4 separate regions of the Homo sapiens genome follow, and regions 1, 2 and 3 are each linked to region 4. The links are contacts of gene promoters, found by promoter capture Hi-C in human tissues and cell types (Jung and others, 2019). All regions are on one chromosome and are shown on one strand. The core of a region is centred on a gene start or on the middle of the fragment in contact, and the rest is flanking DNA. Distances in the headings are between cores, read along the strand shown.

Evidence for each region. The method cuts DNA at HindIII sites, captures the fragments that hold promoters and counts their contacts. A contact is called where the count stands out against the background at its distance.
Region 1: a fragment that was not itself captured here is called in contact with the fragment with the promoter of MASP1 in region 4 in 1 of the 25 tissues and cell types used here (thymus).
Region 2: a fragment that was not itself captured here is called in contact with the fragment with the promoter of MASP1 in region 4 in 2 of the 25 tissues and cell types used here (heart right ventricle and mesendoderm cells).
Region 3: a fragment that was not itself captured here is called in contact with the fragment with the promoter of MASP1 in region 4 in 1 of the 25 tissues and cell types used here (liver).

Annotation. Positions count from the first base shown.
Region 1 is chr3:187,473,188-187,479,892 of GRCh38, reverse strand. LOC124909471 (a long non-coding RNA gene) reads left to right here. Exons shown (of 2, transcript XR_007096210.1): 2 at 1,475-2,409. Among named protein-coding and RNA genes, the nearest start is that of LINC02041, 29 kb to the right of the region's middle. The HindIII fragment of the contact is 8,570 bases long and covers 1-6,412 here.
Region 2 is chr3:187,490,148-187,496,926 of GRCh38, reverse strand. All of the region lies in intron 1 of LOC124909471 (a long non-coding RNA gene), which reads left to right. Among named protein-coding and RNA genes, the nearest start is that of LINC02041, 46 kb to the right of the region's middle. The HindIII fragment of the contact is 7,793 bases long and covers 1-6,363 here.
Region 3 is chr3:187,111,481-187,117,823 of GRCh38, reverse strand. No RefSeq gene overlaps it. Among named protein-coding and RNA genes, the nearest start is that of RPL39L, 25 kb to the left of the region's middle. The HindIII fragment of the contact is 4,041 bases long and covers 1-3,649 here.
Region 4 is chr3:187,287,249-187,293,965 of GRCh38, reverse strand. It overlaps MASP1 (MBL associated serine protease 1), which reads left to right and starts at 2,229. Exons shown (of 11, transcript NM_139125.4): 1 at 2,229-2,338. The coding sequence starts at 2,334. It overlaps LOC101929130 (a long non-coding RNA gene), which reads right to left and starts at 2,694. Exons shown (of 2, transcript NR_135551.1): 1 at 2,430-2,694. The HindIII fragment of the contact is 8,732 bases long and covers 1-6,584 here.

The sequences.
Region 1 (6,705 bases), core at 878-3,377, 190 kb before region 4:
TCTGTCCCTTCCACCATCAGTTTCTCTCAAGGTCCTTGGCATGGGATCTCAAAAGAGTCTACCCATAATCTGGCTTTGAGAGAGTGATTCTGACTCTTTTGCAACTTTTTTCTGGAACTCTACTCTGAAAATTGCCATGCAAACAAATCATTCTCATTGCTTTTAAGATACGCCTCTTCTATGATGAAGATGAAATATCTTTGCTTTCTCAGCCCACATCTCCCTTTTGTAATTTTCTCATAAGCATGGGAGAATCTGAATTTGAAGGGCAATTCAATGTATTACCATTTCTGAGACATCCTGTCATCATTGCTCAATAAGTTAGTATTATATTTAAAATAGTTAATGAAATGCTAATTTGCTCTTGGTCAATCCTTTTATTGGATGGAGCTGAGCAACTTCAGCAAGTTTAACACTGCTAAATATATTCTTAAAAGTATAGATAATAACAGCATCATAGGCTGAGATTGCAAAGAACTATAGTGCCATCTGAAATAATGTCTGAGATGAACAGCACTCAAATGGGAGATTGCATTAGTCTGTTCTTGTGTTGCTATAAAGAACTACTTGAGACTGGGTAATTTATAATAAAAAGAGGTTTAATTGGCTCATGGGTCTGGAGGCTATACGAGAACCATGGCTGGGGAGGCCTCAGGAAACTTACAATCATGGCAGAAGGTGAAGGGGAAGTAGGCATGTCTTACATGGATGGAACAGGAGGAAGACAGCCAAGGGGGAGGTGCTACACTCTTCTGAAAACCAAATGTCATGAGAACTCACTCACTATCATGAGAATAGCATGGGGGAAATCCACCCCCATGATCCCATCACCTCCCAACAGACCCCTTCTCCAACATTGGAGATTATAATTCAATTGCAATTTGGGCAGGGAAACAAATCCAAACCATATCAGAGGTGTATCCAGTCAGTGTGGCAGAAAAGACTGCTTAAATCTTCTTGGGGAAGCTGGTGGTATTGCAGTTCAGATTTCAGATATTCCTCCTTTTGTGTGAAATACACTTCAAGAAAACCCATGGATCATTAAGCTTGTTGTAGTTAAAATTTTCTAATTGTTACACAGGGTTGCTATAATAGCTCAGGGCAGTATTCTATGTCTGGGTCACCACACAACTCTTGACCCTCTCTTGGCCTCAGTTCACTCATATATAAAATGAAGGTGATGGGCAATGTGATCTCTCAAGTCCTTCCCACTCTAAGATATATACATATTTTCTGGTTCATTGGCCATGGCAGCCTCAAAAATTCAGCTTAACTCCACATCAGAGTTAGCCTCTAAGTTAGATGTAGGCATGTCTTCAGATTACACCTGGTGGTAAGTTTCCCAAGTTTTAAACTCTTTATTTGCTCCTAAAAATTATTAGACTCACAATACATATAGGACACTAAGTGTTTTGCATGTTAGAGAGTTGTTGTGGAACTGAATATAATTTTCATTTAGCATCTGTTGCTTCAGGGCTCAGAGACTGATCCAGCTCACTCCTTCATAAGACAATCCTTCCAACTTGAAGACAGAGCTCCTTTCTCTCCAGAGAGAATCAGAAAGAGCAGAAGGCAAGGAAGACAAGCTCCATCCTAAACTCCAATCTGCACTGTTGGATTCATATTCTTCCAGAGCTGAAAAAGACTTGTGAAGTCCTATGATCTGTTGCACTGCCTCATTTTACAGTAAAGAAATTGAGGCTCAGAAAGAAATAAAATGGTTAGAACATTGGTGTTTAGAACACAGCTTGAATCAGACAGACCTGGGTTTGAGAACTGGCTCTGAAACTGTCTTTGCAAAAATTATATCAGTGAGAAAAATTATAACAGTAAGCTAAGCCAACTCTCCCCACCCCTTGCCTTTCCCTTAATTATTTCTGGGCTGCTGGGCTAACTTTGGAAGACATTTAGGCGACAGTGTAAATGATAATAGGCCTTGCCCAAAACTCAACTGCTTTTGTAAAGCTAATGGGAGGCCTCCATACTTGGGGGAGGAGAGGGGCCTGAGTCCTGCTAAGGCACAGACATAAATGAAGGCCAGCCATTATTCCGGAGGTTATAAGATATGTAACTTCCCCAATTATTCCTGAAAATAAAACCACTATTATAGATTGGCCTTTTGAGATATCTTTCCAGGTTTTTTTGTATGTCTGAAATCCATGGCTCCAACCCCCTCCTGTGCCCAGAAGCAAAGCAATTCAGAAGGACAACTTAGACTCCCTATGATTTTATCTCTACCCAGCCAATCAGCAGCAAGCACCTGTTACCTGGCCACCCCCACCTTTTCCCTCAAACTGCCTTTGAAAGTCGCCTAACCTATGAGCTTCTGATGAGATGATTTGAGTAGGAACTCCATCTCCCATGTGGTGTGGCTGGCCTTGTGCCTATTAAACTCTTTCTCTACCACAATGCCATGGTCTTTCTTTATGCATTGGGCAGGAAGAACCCCTCAAGCAGTTATAGCTCCATCAATTATTACCTCTATGACTGTGAAACCCCAAAATTTGAGAGAGGTCTCAGTTAATTTATAAAGTTTATTTTGCCAAGGTTGAAGATGTGCACCTGTAACACAGCCTCAGGAAGTCCTGACAACATGTGCCCAAGGTGGTCAGGGCACAGCTTGGTCTTACATATTTTAGGAAGACATGAGACATCAATCAATATATGTAAGAAGTACATTGATTCCCTCCAGAAAGATGAGGACAACCCGAAGCAGGGAGGGGGCTTCCAAGTCACAGGTAGGCAACAGGCAAATAATTGCATTATTTTGAGTTTCTGATAAGATTTCCCAAAGGAGGTAACCGGATATGCATTTATCTCAGTGAGCAGAGGGATGACTTTGAATACAAAGGGAGGCAGATTTGCCCTGAGCAGTTCCCAGCTTGACTTTTTCCATTAGCTTAGTAATTTCGTGGCCCCAAGATTTTCCTGTCACATTTCCCCTCTTTTCTTTTAAAAAATCTTTTGGAGAAAGCATTTTAGAAGGAAATTAGTTTCTGGTCTCAGGTTTCATCTGATCTCTCATGGCTAGGACAGTTTATTTCTAGATGGGTAGCTCCTGAAAGCTCATTTTTAGCAGATTGTGAAGTCTCATGTCCTATGAAGAGAAAGGAGGGGGAGGAAAGGAGAAAAACAACAACAAACAAAAGAAGGATCCTGGAAAATTGATATAGGTCACATTACTCTGAAGTCCATACATTAGTAGGCAGATATGAAAGTGGCTTATGTATGTAAATAGGTTGCTGTTATTTTCTTCTGAAGTTTAAGGTGTCTGGCTTCAGTTCACAGGGTTTTAAGAAAACACAGCTTTGTTTTCAGTGATTTCAAATTAGGACAAAAATGGGGGGAAAAGGAAAAGAAAGAAGAAAAAAATTAAAAATATTATTTTGAAAACTTGTAGCCAGGAAAAATTATAATTTAGCCCAAACTGTAGAAAATAATAAAAATTGAAAAACATTAGGAAAGACTCAAATCTAACAACAAGTGTACAATAGTTTTTGAAACATAATTTTTCTCTCTCCAGTTTTCCATTTTTACTAAAGACAAATCATGGTAGGACTGATTTGCTTTATTATATTTGGTCAGATTATTTGTATAAAGTGCAGCAAGAATAATTATTTTTCACATATGTTTTTAAAATTTGGCTTTGATGGAAGTTTTTACTATAGAAGGAATCTCAGATAAGACTTTTAAAGCTGAACCCAACCATGGACTTGTACCATCAAATACCTATGAGTTGGGTGAATTTCCCCTCCTCTTGAGGTTCCAAGATAAATTTGGGGCTCCTGGGCCTTTCTGAAAATGACATTCTTTACTTACCATAGGTCAGAAACCCTGTAGAGGGACTGTGTAAACTATGAGGCCAGTTTTCCCAAGGACTTTTTTGGTTCCATGAGTCAAGTTTGATTCCTTAAAGGACAACACACCATTCCAGTCAAAGCCTTGGTAAAATAACAAATTTCTCCAATTGTGTCCTGTTACAAATGAAAACAAATTCTTGTTGCACTTATGCAAATAACTGGATTGCCATAAATTAAGAATACTCACAAATAGTTTCCAAATTCTGGAGAAATCAGGTAGAGAGAAACAAATGTGCTCCAAATTTTGTTCATAAGAGTATACTAAATTGCCAAAACTGTCAATAGCTCAGAAGAAAAGTTTCAAGACTCTGAAAAACAAAACAAATGATCAGCAACATTTTAAGCAAAAAGTCAAAAAGATTAGTTCAGTCCATGCAGTTAATTCCTGTTCTGGTTGATATTCATGAACATTTTAGCACTCTATGCATGAGTCCTGAAAGTTTTTCCTTTATTCTGATGTCACAGTCTCCAAAGTTATCAGAAACCTGCATTCGAGAGCACCTGTTATAGTTTTATAGATGATTATAAAACCACCTTCCAAAGAGGACCAAAACAACACAACCATTGTCCAAGGATGACAAAAAGTTTTAGGGAACCCATAGTCAAAGACAAAATTGACAAGGAAATTTGTTACCTCTGTGGCAGACAATAATTTTAACAATTATCATTATTACTGGTAAAGTCATATCAGAATTACAGGAGTGTCCCAAAATTTTAGAATACATATCAACAACGTATTTATACAAATTAACAAAGAAAACCAAACACCATTTTATATTTGATAATGCTTCCTATATAATTTTTGTACTACTAAATGTCAAAATTATGTCATTTTTGGACTTTAGGGAAACTAATATCTTAGAGGATTAATTAAGTCAGAAAAAGACATAATTTATAATTTGATTTTGAAAAGTTTGTCAAATATCAAAGGTTTAAAACACTTGATATCACAAAATAGGATCACAAGTCATTGTAAAATAAGTCATTCTTTTAACCAAAGTAATAACTCAAAGATTTCAAAAACAGGCAAAACCTTTATTCTTTTAGAGAGGAGATTTAATTTCCCAAACAATAAGCCCTAATAAAAACAGTATGAAGCCAATTAAATTTGTTTTTCAAAATGTATAAACAATCTATAACATTTAAATCTTTACCATAAGATATAACTTCCAGAAGCCTTTTATAACCTTTATAACCATTATTAAGGAATCAGTTAATGCCTCAAGAAAACCTTGTTAATCTGACACAGGGGCCCATATGCTGGTCTTGCATCAGTGTGCCTTTGACATTAATGATTAATTTATAGAGAAACTGAACTTATTTTTATCTTTTAAAGTTGGCCCTTACAATCTCACATGCCCACCTCTACTGAAATAGTCCCTGGGCCTTGAAGAGCTGAATAGATTTAATTTCTGGCCCTGGGTCTCAGTAATGCAGTTAATTTTATGTGCCATCTATTACAGGGCTGTCAGTGTTTAAGATTTAGCCGGACTTGGTGGCCGTTTTAGATCCAGGAGTCAAAGTCCTGTAACTCAATGTCACAAGGACTTTAAAAGCACATACAGGAAGATACATGAATATAATAAACTTAATTTTTTAAAAAAATTAAATTTCAGTTTTTTCCTGGGAAGCAAAACAAAGTTAATAATAATGGCATACTAATTATTTTGATAAAACATAAAATCCATTACACAAGTTACCAAAAGGCAAAAGAAAATATCTTCCACAGTGCACAGAATATTATGTTGGAAGAAAACATTTCCCTTAGACCTTTAAGAAAATGTACCTTTTAAAAGGGGAGAGAAACAGCAAGATGCAACAAAAGTTAAACTTTGGGTTAAAAAAAGAATTAAAATCTCTTATAATTTATTAAGAGTGAATCAACCTCTTAAGAAAATGTCATTGTTCTAATCAATAACTTAGTGTATAAGTGGTTTTTTTTGCATCAAGCCAAATCTCTAGAAAGAGCATTATAATTTCCCTTTAATTATAAACAACTTGATCATATAAAAGTTTTGGGTTTTTTAAAAATTTTATTTAAGAAATACTTATTGTGACTTACACATACCATTCATGACATGCTTGGACTTTCTGGTTTGTCCTGAACATCTCTATTTCTTAAACAACCAGACATTTTATTTTAGGTCTAAATTTGCCATACAAGATTATTTCTCATATAAAATTATTTCTCTTTCTTTTTTTGAGATGGAGTCTTGCTCTGTCACCAGGCTGGAGTGCAATGGCACAATCTCGGCTCACTGCAACCTCCACCTCCCAGGTTCAAGCGATTCCCCTGCCTCTGCCTCCCAAGTAGCTTGGACTACAGGCGCGTGCCACCACACCTGCCTAATTTTTTGTGTTTTAGTAGAAACAAGGTTTCACCATGTTGGCCAGGATGGTCTCGATCTCCTACCTTGTGATCCACCCACCTCAGCCTCCCAAAGTGCTGGGATTACAGGCGTGAGTCACTGCACCTGGCCAAAATTATTTCTCTTTAAGCTTTCTTACCACAAAAAAAAACCCTCTTTTTTTTTTATAACTTTCTTTACGTCCCTCTTATTTCCTGGTTCCTTTACCTTGTTTTATACATAACCTTTAAATAAGCTTTGAATTAGACAAACTTGTTCGCCTTTTCTTAAAAAGGACAGAGGACACACTATTTTTTTTAGCAAGAATGTTTTCCAACAACATATATTTATTGGAAAATACCCAAATAATGAAATATCTATTATTTAATTTAATATAACTTTATATTCTAAATTATGAAAAGTTAGTCTACAAGTGTTTATCCCATTACGTTTACCTAATTGTTATTTTAATTGTTTACCTAGATTATTTATGAAAA
Region 2 (6,779 bases), core at 1,218-3,717, 200 kb before region 4:
GACAAATGTTGTAATATGTATAGACCCTGTAACCATGCCACAATTAAGATGAAAAAGATTTCCATTAACCCAGAAAGTCTTCTCATGCCATTTGGTAAAATATTTATCTCTCTTTCACCAGGAAAACATTGAATTGCTTTCTGTCACTGTAGATTAGTTTTCATTGTCTAGAATTTTATACAATGGAATCATATAATTGTACTTTTTGTCTGGCTTCTTGGACTTAGTATAATTACTTTCAACTTTATCCATCAATCAATAATCTTGTTGCCAAATACTGTTCCATTTTATGGATTTACCACAATTTGTTTACATTAAGCCATTGATAGACATTCAGTGGACTTCAATTTTTGGCTGATAAAAATAGTGCTGCCATAATTATTTAAGTGCACCTTTTCTATGAATGTATGTTTTCATAGCTCTTGGAAAAATATTTACTTAGGAATGGAATAGCTGGATTGTATGGTAAAAGAATGTTCAACTTTTTAAGAAAGTGCCAAACTGTTTTCCAAAATCGTTGTACCACTTTATATATTCAAACCAGTAGTATTTGAGAGTTCTAATTTCTCCACATCATGTTAACATTTGGAATTATCATTTTGTTTCATCATATTTTTAAATTTTGGCCATTCTAGTCAAAGTGTAGTTGTATCCCATTTCGGTTCAATTTGCATTTCACTAATAACTCATAATGTTCAGCTTTTTTTTGTATGCCATCTATGTGTCTTCTTTGGTAAAGTGCCAGTTGAAATCATTTGCCCATTTAAACAAATTATGTTCCTTGTCTTCTCATTTTACAGTTGTAACAATTCTTTATTCTGGATAAAAGTCCTTTGTTAGATATATATTATGCAAATATTTTCTCCCAAATCTGCAACTTAGATATTATTTTATTTTTTTATTTCAGTAGGTTTTGGGGAAACAGGTGGTTTTTGGTTACATGAATAAGTTCTTTACTGGTGATTTCTGAGTTTTCGGTGCACCCATGACCCGAGCAGTACACACTGTACCCAATGTGTAATATTTTATCTCTACCCTCCCATCCTTCCCCTCGAGTCCTCAAAGTCCATTATACCATTCTTATGCCTTTGCATCCTCATAGCTTAACTCCCACTTATAAGTGGGAACATACGATATTTGGTTTTCCACTCCTGAGTTACTTAGCTTAGAAAGTGGTCTCTAACTTCATCGAAGTTGCTACAAAAGCCATTATTTTGTTCCTTTTATAGTATTGCATGATGTACATATACGACATTTTCTTTATTCACTTGTTAGTTGATGGGCATTTAGGTTGGTTCCATATTTTATCACTTGTGAATTGTGCTGCTATAAACTTGTGTGTGCAAGTGTCTTTTTCATATAATGACTTCTTTTCCTTTGGGTAGATAACCAGCAGTGAGATTGCTGAGTCGAATGGTAGAAGTACTTTCAGTCCTTTAAGGAATCTCCATACTGTTTTCTACAGTGGTTGTACTAGTTTACATTCCCACCAGCAGTGTAAAGGTGTTCTCTTTTCACCACATCGATGCCAACAATTATTATTTTTTGATTTTTTAAATTATGGCCATTCTTGCAGGAGTTAGGTGGTATACTGAATTGTGGTTTTAATTTGTATTTCCCTGATAATGAGTAGGTGTTCTTTCCCTACTTCATGTTTTTGAATGCTTTGTCAATGATCAAGTTGGGTATAAATCTTTGGCTTTATTTCTGGGTTCTCTATTCTGTTCCATTGGTCTGCATGCTTATTTTTATACCAGAACCATGCTGTTTAGGTAAGGATAGTCTCGTAGTATAGTTTGAAGTCAGGTAATGTGATGCCTCCCAATTTGCTCTTTTTGCTTAGTCTTGCTTTGGCTATGCAGGCTTTTTTTTGGTGGGGGGGGTTCCATATAAATTTTAGAATTTTTTTTTTAGTTCTGCAAAGAATGATGATAGTATTTTGATGGGAATTGCATTGAATTTGTAGATTTATTTTGGCAGTATGGTCATTTTCACAATATTGATTCTATCAATCCATGAGCATGGGATGTGTTTCCATTTGTTCACGTCATCTATGATTGCTTTCAGCAGCTTTTTGTAGTTTTCCTTGTAGATGTCTTTTATCTCCTTGGTTAGGTATATTCCTAAGTTTTTGTTTGTTTGTTTGTTTTGTTTTTTGCAGCAATTGTAAAGGGGGTTAAGTTCTTGATTTGATTCTCAGCCTGGTCATTGTTGGTATGTAGCAGTGCTACTGATTTTTGTACATTGACTTTGTGTTCTGAAACATTATTGAATTCATTTATCAGATCTAGAAGCTTTTCAGATGAGTCTTTAGGGTTTTCTAGGTATACAATCATATCATCAATGAACAGCGACAGTTTGACTTCCTCTTTATCGACTTGGATGCCCTTCATTTCTTTCTTCTGCCTGATTGCTCTGGCTAGAATTTCCAGGACTACGTTGAATAGAAGTAATGAAAGTGGGCATCCTTGTCTTGTTCTACTTCTCAGGTGGAATGCTTTCAACTTTTTCCCATTCAGTATAATGTTGGCTGTGGGCTTGTAATATATGTCTTTTATTACCTTAAGCTATGTCCCTTCTATGCCAATTTTGCTGAGGGTTTTAATCATATAGGGATGCTGGATTTTGTCAAATGCTTTTTCTGTGTCTGTTGAGATGATCACGTGGTTTTTGTTTTTAATTCTGCTTATGTGGTGTATCACATGCATCAACTTGCGTATGTTAAACCATCCGTGCATCCTTTGTATGAAAGCCATTTGTTCATGGTGGATTATCTTTTTGATATGCTGTTGGATTTGGTTAGCTAGTATTTATTTGATTTTTGCATCTATGTTCATCAGGGATGTTGGTCTATAGTTTTCTCTTTTTGTTATATCCTTTTCTGATTTTGGTATTAATGTGATACTGGCTTCACAGAATGATTTCGAAGGATTCTGTCTTTCTCTATCTTTTGGAATTGTTTCAGTAGGATTGGTACCAATTCTTTGAATATCTACTAGAATGCAGCTGTGAATCCATCTGGTCCTGGATTTTTTTTGTTGTTGGCGATTTTTTTTATTACTGTCTCAATCTTGCTAATTGTTATTGGTCTGTTCAGAGTTTCTATTTCTTCCTGATTTAATATAGGAGGGTTGTATGTTTCCAAGAATTTATCCATCTCTCCATTTTTTTAGTTTGTGTGCATAAAAGTGTTAATAGTAGTTTTGTTGACTTTCTGTCTTGATGACCTGACTAGTGCTGTCAGTGGTGTATTGAAGTCCCCCACTATTATCTCAGCATCATTTGTCTGAAAAACTTGGTAGTGGAGAATTCTCTCAGCATTTGTTTGCCTGAAAAAGACAAAGGCCAGGGAAGTCGTCCTCAATTATTCCCTCAAATAAGTTTTCTAAAGTTTTAGATGTCTCTTCTTCCTCAGGAACACCAATTATTCTTACGTTTGGTCATTTAACATAATCCCAGCTTTCTTGAGAGCTTTGTTTACTTTTTTATTATTCTTTTTTGTTTGTCTCTGTCTAATTGGGTTAATTTGAAAGGCTTGTCTCTGAGCTCTGAAGCTCTTTCTTCGACTTGTTCTAGCCTATTGTTGAAATTTTCCATTGCATTTTGTATTTCCCTAAATGTTTCTTTCATTTCCAGAAGTTGTGATTGTTTTTCTAATGATATCTATTTTTCTTCAATATTATGCATCCGTATCCTGTATTTTTTTTAATTTCTTTAAGTTGGTTTTCACCTTTCTCTGATATCTCGTTGAGTAGCTTAATATTTAACCTTCTGAATTCTTTATATGGCAATTCAGAGGTTTCTTCCTGGTTTAAATCCATTGCTAGAGAGCTAGTGTGATCTTTTGGGGGTGTTATAGAACTATGTTTTTCATGTTACCAGAACTACTTTTCTGGTTCCTTCTCATTTGTGTAGACAATTTCTTCAAATTGTTCTTGAATTCTTTTTTGATTGGACTGTGTTTTGTAGATTTAATTTTCTTTTCTTTTTTGTGTTTTCCTCTTAAGAATCAGACTTCAATGTTTATTATAGTCTAATTTGATTCTTGGTGCTTGTAGGGGTAAAGACTCTGTATGAGTTCCTTAGTTATAGAGAGTCTTTGTGTGCTGGTTTTCCCCAATGTTGGTTGTAGTAGTTATATTCTTGGTGTGTGGGTGAGTTCGACGTCTCCTCTCAAGTTGAAATGGCAGGGATCTCTTGAAACTTATCTCGTTCCCTAGTGGTGTACAATTTATTTGTTTATTTATTTTTTCCCAGTGTTTTATTTACTGATTTGATGATTCAGGCTTCAGGTCAATAGGAGAGGTAAGCCTGGTTAGGCTCCAGGTGTGGCTAAGGCAGGTGGGAAGATATAATACCCAGTGGTGGGCCAAGGTCCAAGCCTTGATGAGTAACTGGGGGCACTCTCAATTAGACGAGCTGAGGTTTTACCTTGGTGAAGAGTGGGAGCTACCTCAGCTCTCTTGCCAGGTCAGCAGGAAAGCTCTTCACCTCAAAGCCTCACTCCTGTCCTAGTGTTGCAGCTCTTCAGATGAGACAGGCACCTCTTTTAATCTATAGGAATGTTGAGTTCCAAGTAGGAAGGAATTGTGACACTGCCGCTTGTATAGGCCTGAATCTGGGGGGGTGCTCCTCCTGTGGGGCTCCACTCAGCCTGGATTGTTCCAGAAATGCTGCCTACAGGTGCCTCCACACTGCATTCTTGTGGGGGAAGCCCCAGCTGCATTTGTGGTGGAGTGGCAGTAGGGAAGAAGGACCCCTTCTCCAAGGCCCTTCACAATCACAGAGGCAGCCTGCCTGTTGGTGTAGAGGTGCAGACTTTCCCTACTGTGCCCAGCACTGCAATTGTATCTCTTCTGTGAGAAACTACCCACCAGTGGAAGGATGTGGAATTCAAGGCCTGCTGTTCAGATTCTTTTGTCCCATGGGGTGATCCCTTGATGTGGTGCTCTCCCCCTTCCTCTAGAGATGGGGCTCCCTGAGAGTTGGACTGCAGTGATTGTTATTGCTTTTCTGAGACTAGTCACCCAGTGGGGCTATGGGGCTCCAGACTGCTGCTGATGAATGTCCACAAAGAGTTCAGTGATGTGATCATTTTTCAGCTCTCCCAGCTGTGGATACCAGCACCTGCTCTGGAGGAGGCATCAGAGGAGTGATGAGATTCTTTGGTTGTAGAGAGGTTTAGTGTGCTGGCTTTCTCAAATGCTGGTTATGCTAGCAGTGAAGTTGGCATGTGGACAAACTCAGGACCTCTAGTTAACTAGAATGCTGCAGGTGGTGGAATTAACTATTGTTTTCTCTTTCCTGAGAGCAGGATCATTCTGTCATGAGTTGCTATAATGGCCTGAGTTGTTTGGCCTCCAGCCAGGAGGTGGTTCTTTCAAGGCAGCACCAGTTGTGGTATTAGCAGTGGGATTTAAGCTTGCCCTAATTTGGCCAGGGGAGGTATTCTGACTTCTCAGGCACTCGGCAGGGCCATAAAGCTCCCAAGAGCTATAGTTTTTTGTTCAGCTACTAGGGTGGATAGAGAAAAGCCATCGGGTGGGGACAGGGTTAGGTGGGTCTGAGCTCAGACTCTCCTTGGGCAGGGCTTGCTGTGGCCACTGTGGAGCATGGGGGTGGTTCTCAGGCCAACGGTGTTATGTTCCAGAGGGAAGTATGGCTGCCTCTGCTGTGTCATATGGGTCACCAGGGAAGTGAGGGATAGCAGGTAATGATAGGCCTCACTCAACTCCCATGCAGTTGTCGAGGCCAGTCTCACTCCCACAGTGCCCCACTAACAGTGCTGAGTTGGAATCCAGGCAGCCTGCAAGCAGAAATCAGACCTGCCCCAGGCTATAAGCTTCCCCATCGAGAAAGCAAGCGCGGCTTTCGTGACACACTCCACCCCATCTGCTCATAATGGCTGTGGCTCCTGCACTTGGATCTGCAGCAGTCCCTGTTCACCCCCAAGATTCTGCTCAAGGAAGTTCATGCCCACTAGAAATTATCACAAAATTCACTTGGAAGCTTCTTTCATCTGGGCCCCTCCCTAATTCTACCAGCTGCCTTCCCTGAGGGCCTCTGTGAGATAGTCAGATATAGTCAGGGACGGCTTCCCTGGGCTTGAGCTGGAGACTGGGAATGCCTACAAAGCTCTTCCTGCTGCTGCTTCTACTTTTAAATTTTGCATGGCTCCCTAAATCTTTTCAAGCTTTAAGTAAGGTTGAATCCTTCTCCTCTGATCTAGATTTGCAGATTCCCTAGTGAGGAAGTGTGTTCAGAGGCAGGGCTCCCCCCTCACACTTTGGGGACTCACAGTTTTTTGCCTGTCTCATGGAGTTTGCAGTGGTGTGCTGCTGCTTGTTTCAAAGGCTTCGTTTATTCTTTTGGTTTTCCTGGTGCATTCCTGTGGTGATTCTTGAAATAAAAGTTCACAGTGTGAATCTCCACAAACTGTTCTATCCATCCAAGTGAAAGATGCATGTTAGCCCTGCCTCCTATCCACCATCTTCCAGCTTTTATTTTCTTACCAGTAACCTCTGAAGAGCAAGCTTTCAAAATTTTGATAAATTCAATTTATTAATTTTTAAATCTTATACTTTACACTTTTAGTGTCCTATTTAAGAAAATATGGGATAACTTAAGGTCACTAAGATTTTTCCCTCTGTTTTCTTCCAAATGTCTTATAGTTTTATTTCTTGCAATCAGGTATATATTCCATGTAAGTTAATTTTTGTATATGGTGTGTTATAAGATTTGAGGTTAATTTCTTTTTTTTTTTTACACTTGGCTATCAA
Region 3 (6,343 bases), core at 380-2,879, 180 kb after region 4:
TATCAAAAGATACAGATGTCTTTTGTTTGCCACATATCATATGAGAAAATATACTTGAAATTGTAGGATGATGTAAATGGGTATGTTCAGTATAGGTCTACATTTGATCCAGCAATCCCACTACGGGGTATCTACCCAGAGGAAAAAAAGTCATTATACGAAAAAGATACCTGCACACACATGTTTATAGCAGCACATTTCGTAATTGCAAAAATGTGGAACCAACCCAAATGCCCATCAATCAATGAGTGGATGAAGAAACTGTTTTTTATAGATAGATAGATAGATAGATAGATAGATAGATAGATAGATAGATAGATGATAGATGGATGATGGAATACTACTCAGCCATAAAAAGGAATTAATTAATGGCATTCGCAGAAACCTGGATGAGATTGGAGACTATTATTCTAAGTGAAGTAACTCAGGAATGGAAAATCAAATATTGTATGTTCTCACTCATAAGTGGGAGCTAAGTATGAGGATGCAAAGGCATAAGAATGACACAATGGACTTTGGGACTCAGGGGGAAAGGGTGGGAAGGGAGTGAGGAATAAAAGACTACAAACTGGGTGCAGTGTATACTGCTTGGGTGATGGGTGAACCGAAAATCTCACAAATTACCACTAAAGAACTTAACTTATGTAACCAAACACCACCTGTTCCCCAATAACCTGTGGAATTAGAAAATTTTTAAAAAATGTATTAAATCCACTCTTTGGAACTCAGATAACATCTCCAGAACACCCCAGTGCTTTGTTCCCAACATCCTTTCTAAGTCTGCACCAAACAGCACAGGCACTCTCTTCTCCTCACGTATCTTCCTTGATCATCACTGAAACTCATGTAGAAGGATGAACTGGAGAGCCGAGTGCTGAAAACCCCTCACAGCTGTCTTCTCTTCTCACAGCCTTTCATCAGAATGGCATCACACTATCTAATTTTCCCCATCTGGTAGGTGAGAAACGGTATCTCAGTATAGTCTTAATTTGCATTCATTTGTTTGAGTGAGGTTGAACACCTTTTCATATGTGTAAGGGCCATTTTTATATCGTGTTTGTGTGTGTGTGGTCTGTTCATGTTTTAAGCCCATTTTCATGTCATATTTTTGGACTTTTTCCTCTCCATTTTTAAGAGTTCTTTATATATTAGGGATATTAGCCCTTTCTGATGTATGTTGCAAATTTTTTCTTCAAATTTCTCCGTTGTATTTTTACTTTGTTTATGGTATTTTCCCACACAAAAGGTTTTTTATGCAACAAAATTTATCAAATTGTTTTTACTATATCGAGATTCTGAGTCATAATTAGAAATCCTTTCTCTATACCCATTTTTTAAATGAATTTGCCTCACCTTTTCTTCCAGTATTTGTTTCTATGCATTAATGAAATTATTGTCTAGATATAAAAACCCCAAATATTCTATAAAATAGATCCTAGAACCAACAGGTGAGGTTAGCAAGTCACAATATATATGGCTAATATTCAAAACACAATTGAATTTCAGTATTATAAAAATAAATGATTGGAAATTAAAAATTTTAAAATACTACCATAGTACCATTTACAATACATCAAAAAACAAAATACTTAAGAATAAATCTAACAAAAATATGCAAAGGATTGTATGCTGAAAACTGCAAAACACTGCTGAAAGAAAGCAAAGCCTTAAATAAATGGAGAGATATACTGTATTCATAGATTGGAGAACTCAGTAGTGGTAAAATGTCATTTTTCTTCAAATTGACCTATAGATTTAACACAATTCCAATCAGAAACATAATAGGCTTTCCTGTAGAAATAAGTTGATTCTAAAATTTATGTGGAAATGCAAAGAATGTAGAATACCCGAAATAATTTTGAAAAAAGCAACAAATTTGGAGGGTTCATACTAACTGATTTTAGTTTTTTTAATTTTTAAAATTTTTTGTAGAGATGAGGTCTCCCTATGTTGCCCAGGTGGATCTCAAACTCCTGGGCTCAAGTGATCCTTCTGCCTTGGCCTCCCAAAATGCTAGAATTACAGACATGAGCCACCACACTGGGCCCTAACTGATTTTAACACTTATGGTAAAGCTATAGTAATTGAGCTAATGTAGGCTTGGTGAAGTAAGATAGACAAGTAGAATGAAGAAACAAGACAGGAAATTTAAAAAATAGATCGATGCATAGAGGATCAATGAACTTTTGACAAAGGTGCAAAGGCAATTCAGTGGACAAAGGATAGTCTTTACAACAAATTATGCACATCTACATGTTAAAAAAAAAACCCACCTTGATCCATATCTTGTACCATATACAAAAATAAACTCTAATGGGATCATAGACCTAAATGTAAAATCTAATGGTATAAAGCTTCTAGAAGACAGCATAAAAGAAATATTCTTAAGTTTGGGTGAGGCAGAGGTGTCTTAAATATGACAACAAAAACACAATTCATAAAATTAAAAACTTGATAAGTTGGACTTTATTAAATTTAAAATCATTTCTCTTTAAGACATTAAGAGAATGAAAAGTAACATCAGAAGCAGAATATTTGCTCTCTCTAGATATCTCTGTATACTACATATATCAAATAAGAGCCTTATATCCAGATTATAAAAAGAACTATCAAAGTTCAATAATAAGGAAACAACAATTTATAAAACAGGCAAAGAATTTGAACAGACGCTTCATCATAGATGATATGTAGTTGGCAAATAAGCACATTAAAAGAGGTTCATAGTGATATGCAATTAACATCATTTTTAGGATATACAAAATAAAGCTACAGTAAAATACCACTATTGACCTATAAGAATGAATAAACAAAAAAAAAAGCAAAAGAATACAGTTGACAATAGCAAGTGCTGTCAAGGATGCAAAGCAACTGAAATTCTCATACATTGCTGGTGGGAATAAAAAATAGGGAATAGTTTGGGCATTTTTAAAGTTAAACCTGTATTTACTCCTGGAAAGCTTTCTTCTTCTATTACAGTTCTGTTTTTGTTTTTTTAGGGACAGGGTCTCACCCTGTCACCCAGTTCAACAGTTCAATTATAGTTTTAAATGATAGTTACATTGTTTGCTATTTCTTCTTCATGTACTCCAGTTATACCAGTGTTGCTTTGGACTGTCTTCCCTGTCAATCACTTTCTTCCTGACCCATTTCACTTCTTTATTTCATTTCATTTTCTTGCTTGTTTGCCTTTGTTCAGTGCCCATATTAAATTTCCATCTGAGTACATTCTCCTTTGGGTGCTATAGCGAGGTGATGATGACCACGCCCACCCCCACACCCCAAAAATGTCTACTCAGAACCTGGGAATATGATCTTATTTGGAAAAAGGGTCTTTGCAGGTGTAATTAAGTATCTCAAGATAAAATCATCCTAGGTTTTCTGGTTGAGCCCTAATTCCAATTCCAAGTATCCTTAGAATAGAAGGAGAGAAGACACATAGAAACGATGGTAATGTGGGAAGGAAGGTGGAGATTAGAGTGACGCATCTATAAACCAAAGAACAACAAGGATTGCTGGCAGCCCCCAGAAGCTATGAAGGAGAGATAGAGCAGACCCTTCCCTCAGAGCCTCGGGAAGAAACAAGCCCTGCCAGCCCCTTGATTTGAGACCTCTGGCCTCCAGAACTGTGGGAAAATAAATTCCTATTGTTTCAAGCTCTCAGTTTATAGTAATCTGTTAAGATAGCCCTAGGAAACCAATATAAGTACCCTCTTAAAATTTATGTTTCAATCCTAAGATTATTTTTCTTTTTCTTTTATTTTCTTTCTGAGTTCAATCAACACACTGTTCATTACTTCCCATTTTTTTCTAAATCCATTTATATTTTAATTTCTGATTAAAGATAGTTTTTCAGGCCAGGCGCAGTGGCTCATGCCTGTAATCCCAGCACTCTGGGAGGCCAAGACAGGTGGATCACTTGAGGTTAGGAGTTTGAGACCAGTCTGGACAACATGGTGAAACCCCGTCTCTACTAAAAATACAAAAATTCCCTGGGTGTGATGGCGCCCACCTGTAATCCCAGCTACTTGGGAGGCTAAGGCAGGAGAATCTCTTGAACCTGGGAGGTTCAAAAAATAAATATAGTTCTAAAATTTATGTTTGAACCTGGGAGGTTCAAATATATACATATATACACACATATATACATATATATACATATATACACATATATGTATATATATGTATAGCTTTTCACATGTCTATACTTGTTTGAGGTTATTTGAGTCTGGAGTGTAGCATTGCAGTTTTCCTCTGCTTCATGGTCATTTTTGTATTTACCTCCCTTGGAGTGGTGGAAAATTTTTATCACTTGAGGTGTGTTGAGTCTCTTTCTTTAAGAAGCTTTGCATAGATTTATTCCATTTTTTGTAATTCTTTTTGTGGATGTGGGCTAATTTACAAGATTCTTCATTTAATGGTGCCCTCTTCTGTCAATGTGGTGAAGTACAGCTTCTTTAATGATTGTGTTTTGGTACTTGGGGGAGGAATAGTGTGTCTTCCAGGAGATATCCAAGCCTGTTATGCACACCAAAAAATATAAAGCTCTATCTTAAAGGCTTTACCTTTCAAATCCAGTATAGTTGAAATTTATTGTCTCTGAAGGAAGAACCTCCAAGAGCACACAACACGGTGTCCTTGCATTACTGTCAGGTGATAACTTCACATTTCCTTATATGGCATGTTTCCTCTGAGCCATCCATTCCCACCTTCACCCTGCTGCCTCCTCCCATGTGCCCTCTCTCTCTAAAAACCACGTTCTGGTATGTCCCACAAAAGCAAGGAGATGTAAACTAAGAAAGAAGCAGTGTGAGGGAAAAAGGAACAAGATTCACAGAGGAGCAAAGGAAATTCCTAAGATGATGATGAAATGAAGTTCTAGGAGAACACTTGTTTAATGTAGGGTTAGAGATCACCAGTTCAGGAGAGACAGCGCCCCCAGAGACTCCCCTCCAAAATGAAGCTTATAGGCCAGGCGTGGTGGCTCATGCCTGTAATCCCAGCACTTTGGGAGGCCAAAGCGGGCGGATCGCTTGAGGTCAGGAGTTCAAGACCAGCCCGGCCAATGTGACAAAACCCTGTCTCTACTGAAAATACAAAAATTAGCCAGGTGTGGTGGCACACACCTGTAGTCCCAGCGACTTAGGAGGCGGAGGTGGGAGAATTGCTTGAGGTAGGGAGGCAGAGGTTACAGTGAGCCAAGACCATGCCACTGCACTCCAGCCTGTGCGACAGAGTGAGATTCTGTCTCGAAAGAAAGAGAGAGAGAGAGAGGAAGGAAGGAAGGAAGGAAGGAAGGAAGGAAGGAAGAAGAAAAGAGAAGAGAAAAGAGAAAGAGAAAGGAAGGAAGGATTAAAAAGAAGCTTATAGAATATTTAATATTTATAAATAATTGTACCAACAAAAGTTTGACAGCTGTGTCAGAATTTGGGGATAAACTGGTGATATTACAAAAGAATACTAAGCAAACAAAAAAATGTAATCATTAACTCCAGGGTAGGGGGGTGGTTAAAGAAAAGGAAAGAGGCCAGGTGCAATAGCTCACACCTGTAATCCTAGCACTTTGGGAGGCTGAGGCAGGTGGATCATCTGAGGTCAGGAGTTCGAAACCAGCCTGACCAACATGGAGAAACCCTGTCTCTACTAAAAATACAAAATTAGCTGGGCATGGTGGCACATGCCTGTAATCCCAGCTACTCGGGAGGCTGAGGCAGGAGAATCGCTTGAACCACAGAGGCGGAGGTTGTGTTGAGCTGAGATCACGTCATTGCACTCCAGCCTGGGCAACAAGAGGGAAACTCTCTCTCAAAAAAAAAAAAAAAATGCAGGGGGCGGGGAAAGAAAATGTAACCATGAAACCCATACATAACTCAGCTGTAAATAACATTTACATAGTCAAAACATATAATCTTTGAATATTGACTTAACCAAATATGATGCTATTATAACTACATTAGGAGTGGGGTATAGAAGAATTGTGTGTGGATGAGGTGTGAATTGTAAGATGGCTAAATCTTTATCATCTATTGTAGTAAATAATATTTAAAGTCAAAAAACAAAAACATGGCAGTATAATCATATCCTTTAGGAAAATGAAAGTGAATACTATAATAAATGGCGAAGATTTGAAAGTGGTTCCCTCTGGGAACAGGAATGTATAGGTGAATGGGAGAGAAGAAATGGAGAATGGGTGCTTTCATTGTGATACTCAGGTGATGGTCTGAGGATCATGCAGAAGAAGTATTAATGTAGCATTCTCCTGACTTCCATATCAAATACAGGCACTCCTTGACTTAAGGTGGGATTAAGTCTGAACAAACTGATATTTTCAACTTATAATTGGTTT
Region 4 (6,717 bases), core at 980-3,479:
AGAAGCTGATGGCTTTCTCGCCCAAGCTCTTCCCTCTGTACCCAGAACAAATGACTGCAGTTCCCAGTATATGCCCTAAATTAGGAGAGGGCAAACTCCGTGGCAGCATGAATTGAGGGAATGTCTTTACTGGGCAGGGGCCCTCTTCCCAGCACAGTGTGCATTTTGCCAAGCTCTTTCTCCTTCAGTTTTAAAACCCTTGTGTATTCCAAGAGAAATGTCGTCCATGTGTTTCTGATTCATTTACACGTAAATCATTAAAATGTTGTTTTGTGAGAGTTATTTAATGTGTGCGGAGCCTGTGAGTCTTCTTAACGGGAATGTTAAAAGCTTTTTTTCCTGTGCTGACTGAGACAGAACACATTTTGCTAAAACAGTGCCTGAGTTCAAACATATCCTCCCATCTCATATACTTGTACCTGCTTTATCAACCACAGCCTCTTGATAATGCCAAGCTTGGCAAGGCTGGCATTCAAAAGTGTGAAAATTAGAGAAACTGGAGAGAAAATGGAGTAAGAAGTACAGTGAGAGTCAAGCCACTGTTCCCCAGAACGTGCCAAAGGAACGTTATCTGAGGGTAGACAGTGCATGTGTCTGCCGCTTTGGTGAGTGTGGCTGGCAGCCCTCTCTCTGGTACTCCCCTGGACACTTCTACAAGCACAGTCTTATTTAAGCCTCATAGTAACTCCCATTTTCCAAATGAAGACACAGAATCAGATACCTTAAGTATTGTGCCCAAAGTACACAGCTGTCTTGGGTAGAAAGGAAAGATTACAGCTAAACTCTGAGTCTAATCTTCTTTTCAAAATGACTCAGATTGAGTTTCTCTATGAATGCCGTCTGTGTGTGTGCATTTGAAATTCCATATGCATTATAAAATGTTAATGAGTAGCAGTGTAATACAGTGGCTAACACTTCAAATTCTGCCTCTATTACTTTCTAGCTGTGTGAACTTGGGAAAGTTACTTAACCTCTCTGGGCAATTTCCTCTGAAAAATGAGAATATTGCCAGCCATGTATACAACATATAAAGATGACTGAAAAGAATTCATATATTAAGTGCTTAGAGCAGTGCCTGACACGTAGCACTCAATAGCTGTTAGCTTCTAGTGCTAGTGGCAGTGGGGAGTCATAAATAACTGGATGATCTTGGCAAGTGGCATATTCTCTCTGAGCCTTAGTGTCCTCACTTGTAAAATGAGTATAACAGCAGCACTTTCACCAGTTTGCAAAAGTAACTTGAGATGATGTTAATGACTAGTACTGTGTCTAACACAGAAAAGGTGCACAGTCAAACTTAACTTTTACACCCAGATACACCTCTCCCTATTCAGTGTTGGTTGTTGTTGTTGTGGAGGGGGTAATTTTCTTATTATTCAGCTCATCTTAGATCTAGTGTTGATTTCTCCGGAAGCCATGGGTATAGACATATATACAGGCCCAGGTCTTTCTACACCCCTGGGGAGGTGAGATTTCTTGCTGCGATGGGCCCTTTCTGGGCTGGAGTAGAGCCGCACACACTCCGAGCAAGTAAACAGTGCCACAGGTATTGCTCATGGGGAGGAACAACCAGCCAACTTCAGGACTTGGTGCTTCCCCAGTTCCGGGCCCGTGGCTCTGTTCACAGGAAAACCTGTCGTTGTGTGTGACTCTGATCACGAGAAAACCTGTAGTTATTTGGGGCTCTGCTCACAAGGAAACCTGTAGTTATTTGCAGACAGACGCTCTGGGATTTAGACCTTTTTTTTTTCTTCTAGTGTAGGTGCTAGAATTGCCTTCTTAGTTGGTTGTTTCTATTTAATTGCTTTTCTTTCATGGGTGTCCTGAAGAAAAGCAGAAAATTATAGTCATCTGGCAAAAAAGACTAAAGAGAAATTAGACTTTGTCCCCTTTCACTCTCTCTCTCTCTCTCTCTCTACACACACACACACACACACACACACACACACAGAGTGATACAAATACCTGCTTGAGCCCCTCAGTTATTTTCTCTCAAGGGCTGAAGTCAGCCACACAGGATAAAGGAGGGAAGGGAAGGAGCAGATCTTTTCGGTAGGAAGACAGATTTTGTTGTCAGGTTCCTGGGAGTGCAAGAGCAAGTCAAAGGAGAGAGAGAGGAGAGAGGAAAAGCCAGAGGGAGAGAGGGGGAGAGGGGATCTGTTGCAGGCAGGGGAAGGCGTGACCTGAATGGAGAATGCCAGCCAATTCCAGAGACACACAGGGACCTCAGAACAAAGATAAGGCATCACGGACACCACACCGGGCACGAGCTCACAGGCAAGTCAAGCTGGGAGGACCAAGGCCGGGCAGCCGGGAGCACCCAAGGCAGGAAAATGAGGTACGTGCCAGGGGAGGAGAGGGCACGGTTCCCTTTTGGGGACCAGTGTCAAATAGCAGGGAAGGTCTGACCTTGTCACTGACAGACTCACCTGCGTGTCCTGCATGTGGTAGTGAGGGGCTTTCTCATCAATTCTTAGGGCTCTGAGAAGGGAGCTGTGGGTGGGCTGGGTGCCTTCCCCAGGACTCCAGGAGACATAAAACTTGAAACGGGAGACTTCGTGCAAATCCTGCTCCGGACGCTGCTGAAGCTCAGATTTCTCCCACTGCCTGCACAGGGTGCTGCCTGCTGGCGAATGTGACTCTCCTCCTGTTCACCCACAAGGCTGATTTTTCCGTGTTCCTCCTCTGGAAAGAGCATTGCTTTCTCTCTTCCAGCACTTTGTGAGTTAGATATGTGTTTGTGTGTTCATTCCTTCTGACCAGAAAAGAAACCAGCTTCCCATAGCTTGGCTCTGTGGTTTCTTCAACCTTTACAAGTTTGCCAGTTAAACCTCAATTTAGAAAACTAAAAATCTGTCCCCATTTTACAGTTCCCTATAAATTTTCTGCATTTCTCATTGAAATCAGAGGCAGCTGGTGGCATGAATCAGGCTATGAAGTACACCAAATGGCTCTTAAAGAGATATCATACTTAAAAAAAAAAAAAGGATTTTAGAGTTCTGAAATCAAGAACTTCAAATTCTAATTGGTTTTAAACTCTTTAACCTTTCTTATTCCTCATTATACTTGACACTCCTTACCAGACCTTTCATACAAGTTCTATCCTGCAAGTCTGAAAACCCAACCACCCTAGTTATTTTTATTAGTTAAGTGTTAATGCTGTTACACACACACACACACACACACACACACACAATGCTCTGCAGATGTGTAAGTCCCTAAACACATCTTTTACTATTAATTTTCTTTTCACTTGGGAAAGTGTTTTTATTTGTTTCTCTTCTGCAAAGTAACCTAGCAACTTTTCTGGACCTGAGACCAATGAGAGGCTTCAGACTATGTTAACTCTTTGAACTCCGATTACCTGTGGTTCAGAGAGATAACCAGGTCCTTAAAAAGTGAGTGCAATAATTCTGTTCTTCTTAAAGCCATAGTAATTTTAAACCTGCCATTAAACATCATTTTTCTTTCTCCAAAAAAAAGTGATTTATGTCAATCTACATTGAATGATAATCTCATTTATCTGTCAATGATCTGGTCTGAATCCCACCCTACCATTCAGTGCCCCAGCCCATATCAAACTACTTGGCTGAGTAACAATTCTGTATCTTTGCATATGCTCATCCCTCAACCTGGAGCAACCTTCTTCTTTATTTTCCACCTAGAAGACCTGATTGTTCAAGCTGGCACAAATATCTCTTTCTCTCTCCTGACCACCATATTCCAGAGTGAGCATCCCCTCCTTTGTCCTTTGTTCTGTTTCTGTCCCTTGAAGCTGCATCTCTTATTGTCCTTGTAGTATCCCCTTGTTTAAATGTCCACCTCCCCTTACAAGTCTCAGCACTCCTTAAGTTACATGATCTATGTCTTCATCTTTGTATGGCCAGCACCTAGCATAATGTCTATTTCCTACCAGCCATTCAATACCTATTTGTTGAATTGAATTCAATTTTTGAATAGCCAAGCAACTACGAGAAAGGTGCTCTGCTAGAAAAGTCTCCAGCAGGTCTTGTCTCACATGGATACAGTATTTCAGTGTTTGCAGAGCACTTTCAAGAGCACTGTCTCATGGGGGTTTCAGATTCTGGATGAAGTAAGGATTTATGGATAAGTAGTGGGTATAAAAGCAGTTAAGCAACTTGCCCAAACCACACTGATGATCATGAAAAGGTCCAGATTCAAATTTGGGTCTTCGGGCTCCAAGTTCAGGATTTTTTCTACTATATTCCACTAGACTTTCAGCCAAGTGTATTATTCTAAACTGACGGCTCATAATTCTGACTGTACGTCGGAATGATCTGTGCTGCCTTGAAACATGCCAGTGCTCAGGCCTCACCCCAGAGCAATTAAACCAGAACCTCCTGAGGAGGGACTTTGGCATTAATATTTTTAAATTTTTTACGTAAAGCCATGGGTTTTTCAATTATTTTTCACAGGATTAATTGCTTTGGCCAGATGCCTGGGCATGATATGGGCATGGACCCAGCTTCTTCTGTGAGCTCTTTTTATTCCCTTCTTCTGTTGAAGTTAATTCACCATATGGTATTGAGCATGATGTGACATCTCTTGGGGTATCCTTTTCATCGTCTGTCAAATTAGGGTGCTCTGTAAAGGATCCATGCAGTCCCTTCCAACTCTTCAATTCAAAAATGGAGTCTTGGTGTGGAGTGGGTTGAAACAAGGGGCGTGTACGGACAGTGTATGGAAAAGATAGCAAGTGCCGTTCATGCCGCAATCATAGATATATGCAGGCATTTTTACAGAGTCCTGCTAGCCTGTTCCTACGGGGGGCCTCTGAAATCTCAGCTCTATATATTACTTTTGACATTTCTGCAATGTAGCTAAACTTTTTGATTAGCCGGAGGATAGATAGCAGGTGTTGGGAACTATACAGCCGGTGCCTCGTATACAAGAAGCCAAAAACATTCAGAGAGTGTGACGAGGAATGAAAGCTGCCACTTATATTCTTCAATTTACAGCCCCTAACGCAAGCAGGCAAGCATATGCTCAAGCCCATTACATGAAGGGAGATATTTGTTTCATATGTTTGAAACCGTTTTGAGATGCAAACAAAGTAGAAGGGAAAGCTTCCTGGGCCTTCCTCCCACGCTGACCAGTTGCCTACCACACATGGCACCGGGCTTCTGGGCTACACAGGGCTGTCTGCTGCCAGTCCTTGACAGAACCGGCCTCAGGAGGCTCAGTGTCTCCTCGATGTGGTCTGGAAAAAGCAGTCATGGAGGAAGTTGACCTTTCGGCCTTGCATAATTTGGGTGTCGCTATTATAGGGAAGTCCGGTTTAGGAGCCAAAGCTCATTCCTGACTCTTGCTTTTTGGGAACTGGCAGGATGGAATAATTATAACTAATGTTTGGCTAGGGCTGGACAGTTAACAAAATACTTCCCCATCCTCCTTTACGCTGATAGCAGTGCTGTGGGAAGTCGTTATTATTACTACTTAATGGATGAGGAAACAAGACCTCCCATGACCTCCTAAAATGGAAAGGATAAATAAAGTCAAAGCTGGAGCTGAATCTAGCTCTTTTGACCCAGGGCCAGTGCCCTCCCCTCCTCAGCAGGGCTGAACCTGAACTCCCAGCCCTGTTAACACTGGTTCATTTCCTCACTTGAAAATGGGATGCCTGGGCCCTGCCACCTGGTTTTTTGACTCAGCTTTCCAACTAATTCACAGGTTAACTTGGACATATGCCTTCCCTTCCTTCTGCCTCTGAGGCCCTCCTTCCACAGATTGGTTTAAGAAAATATTGACATTGGCTATGGGATTAAGACATTTTGTTTTCTTAATAGAATCTCACATATTGCTATTGTAGGGACCTTGAAAAAAATTAAATAAATGTATTTTCTTTTTATTGAAAAAATAGTACATGGTCCTTCTTGACAAATGTAAACATTTTATATGCACAAAAATGGAAATACTTATATTCCCATTTCAGAGATAACTACTGTCAATACCTTGGTGTATATCCTTTCAGACATTTTGTACTTACCTATTTACACTTTATGTAAATATTAACATGACATAGCTACATAATCTATGTATGTAGTTAACTTGCTCTGTTTACATACCCAAAAACTCAAATGTATGCATTACACAGATATATGCATCTGAATACATGGGCAGACTGGGTATTGGAGAGAAACAACGTCCTGATTAGCAAATATATCATTGTTAATCTGAAGATGCTGGTATGGTTTCCCAGCATTGACTTTTTAGGCTATCTAAGACTCAGGCCCCACTTTCATGGATTCATTCATTTATAATCTGTTATATATCAGACTCTGTACTGGGACCTTTATATACATCACCTTTAGTGCTCATAGGAGCCTTATGAATTAGATATTATAATCTCCATTTTACTTCTGAGGAAACTGGGGCTCAGGGAGACTAGTTGCCCAAGTTTTCACAGTCAGTAAGTGAAAGAATTGGGACTTAAATCCAAGTACATTTCACTCCAAAGGGTGTGTCTAACGTAGTGCAATGTGATACCCACAATAATAGAGAAATGTGCAGGGAGCAGTGGCTTGTGGAGGAGTGAAAGGATACTCCATAGCTGGGAAGCTCTGAGCTGGATGGTGGAGGATAAGCAAGACAGTGGAGGATAAGTAGGTGAGGAGTGAGCAGGGCACATGCAATGAGGCTGGAATGGAAGGGCATGGTGTGCTCCCAGAATAACAGGGGGCTCACAGGGCTGGCTAC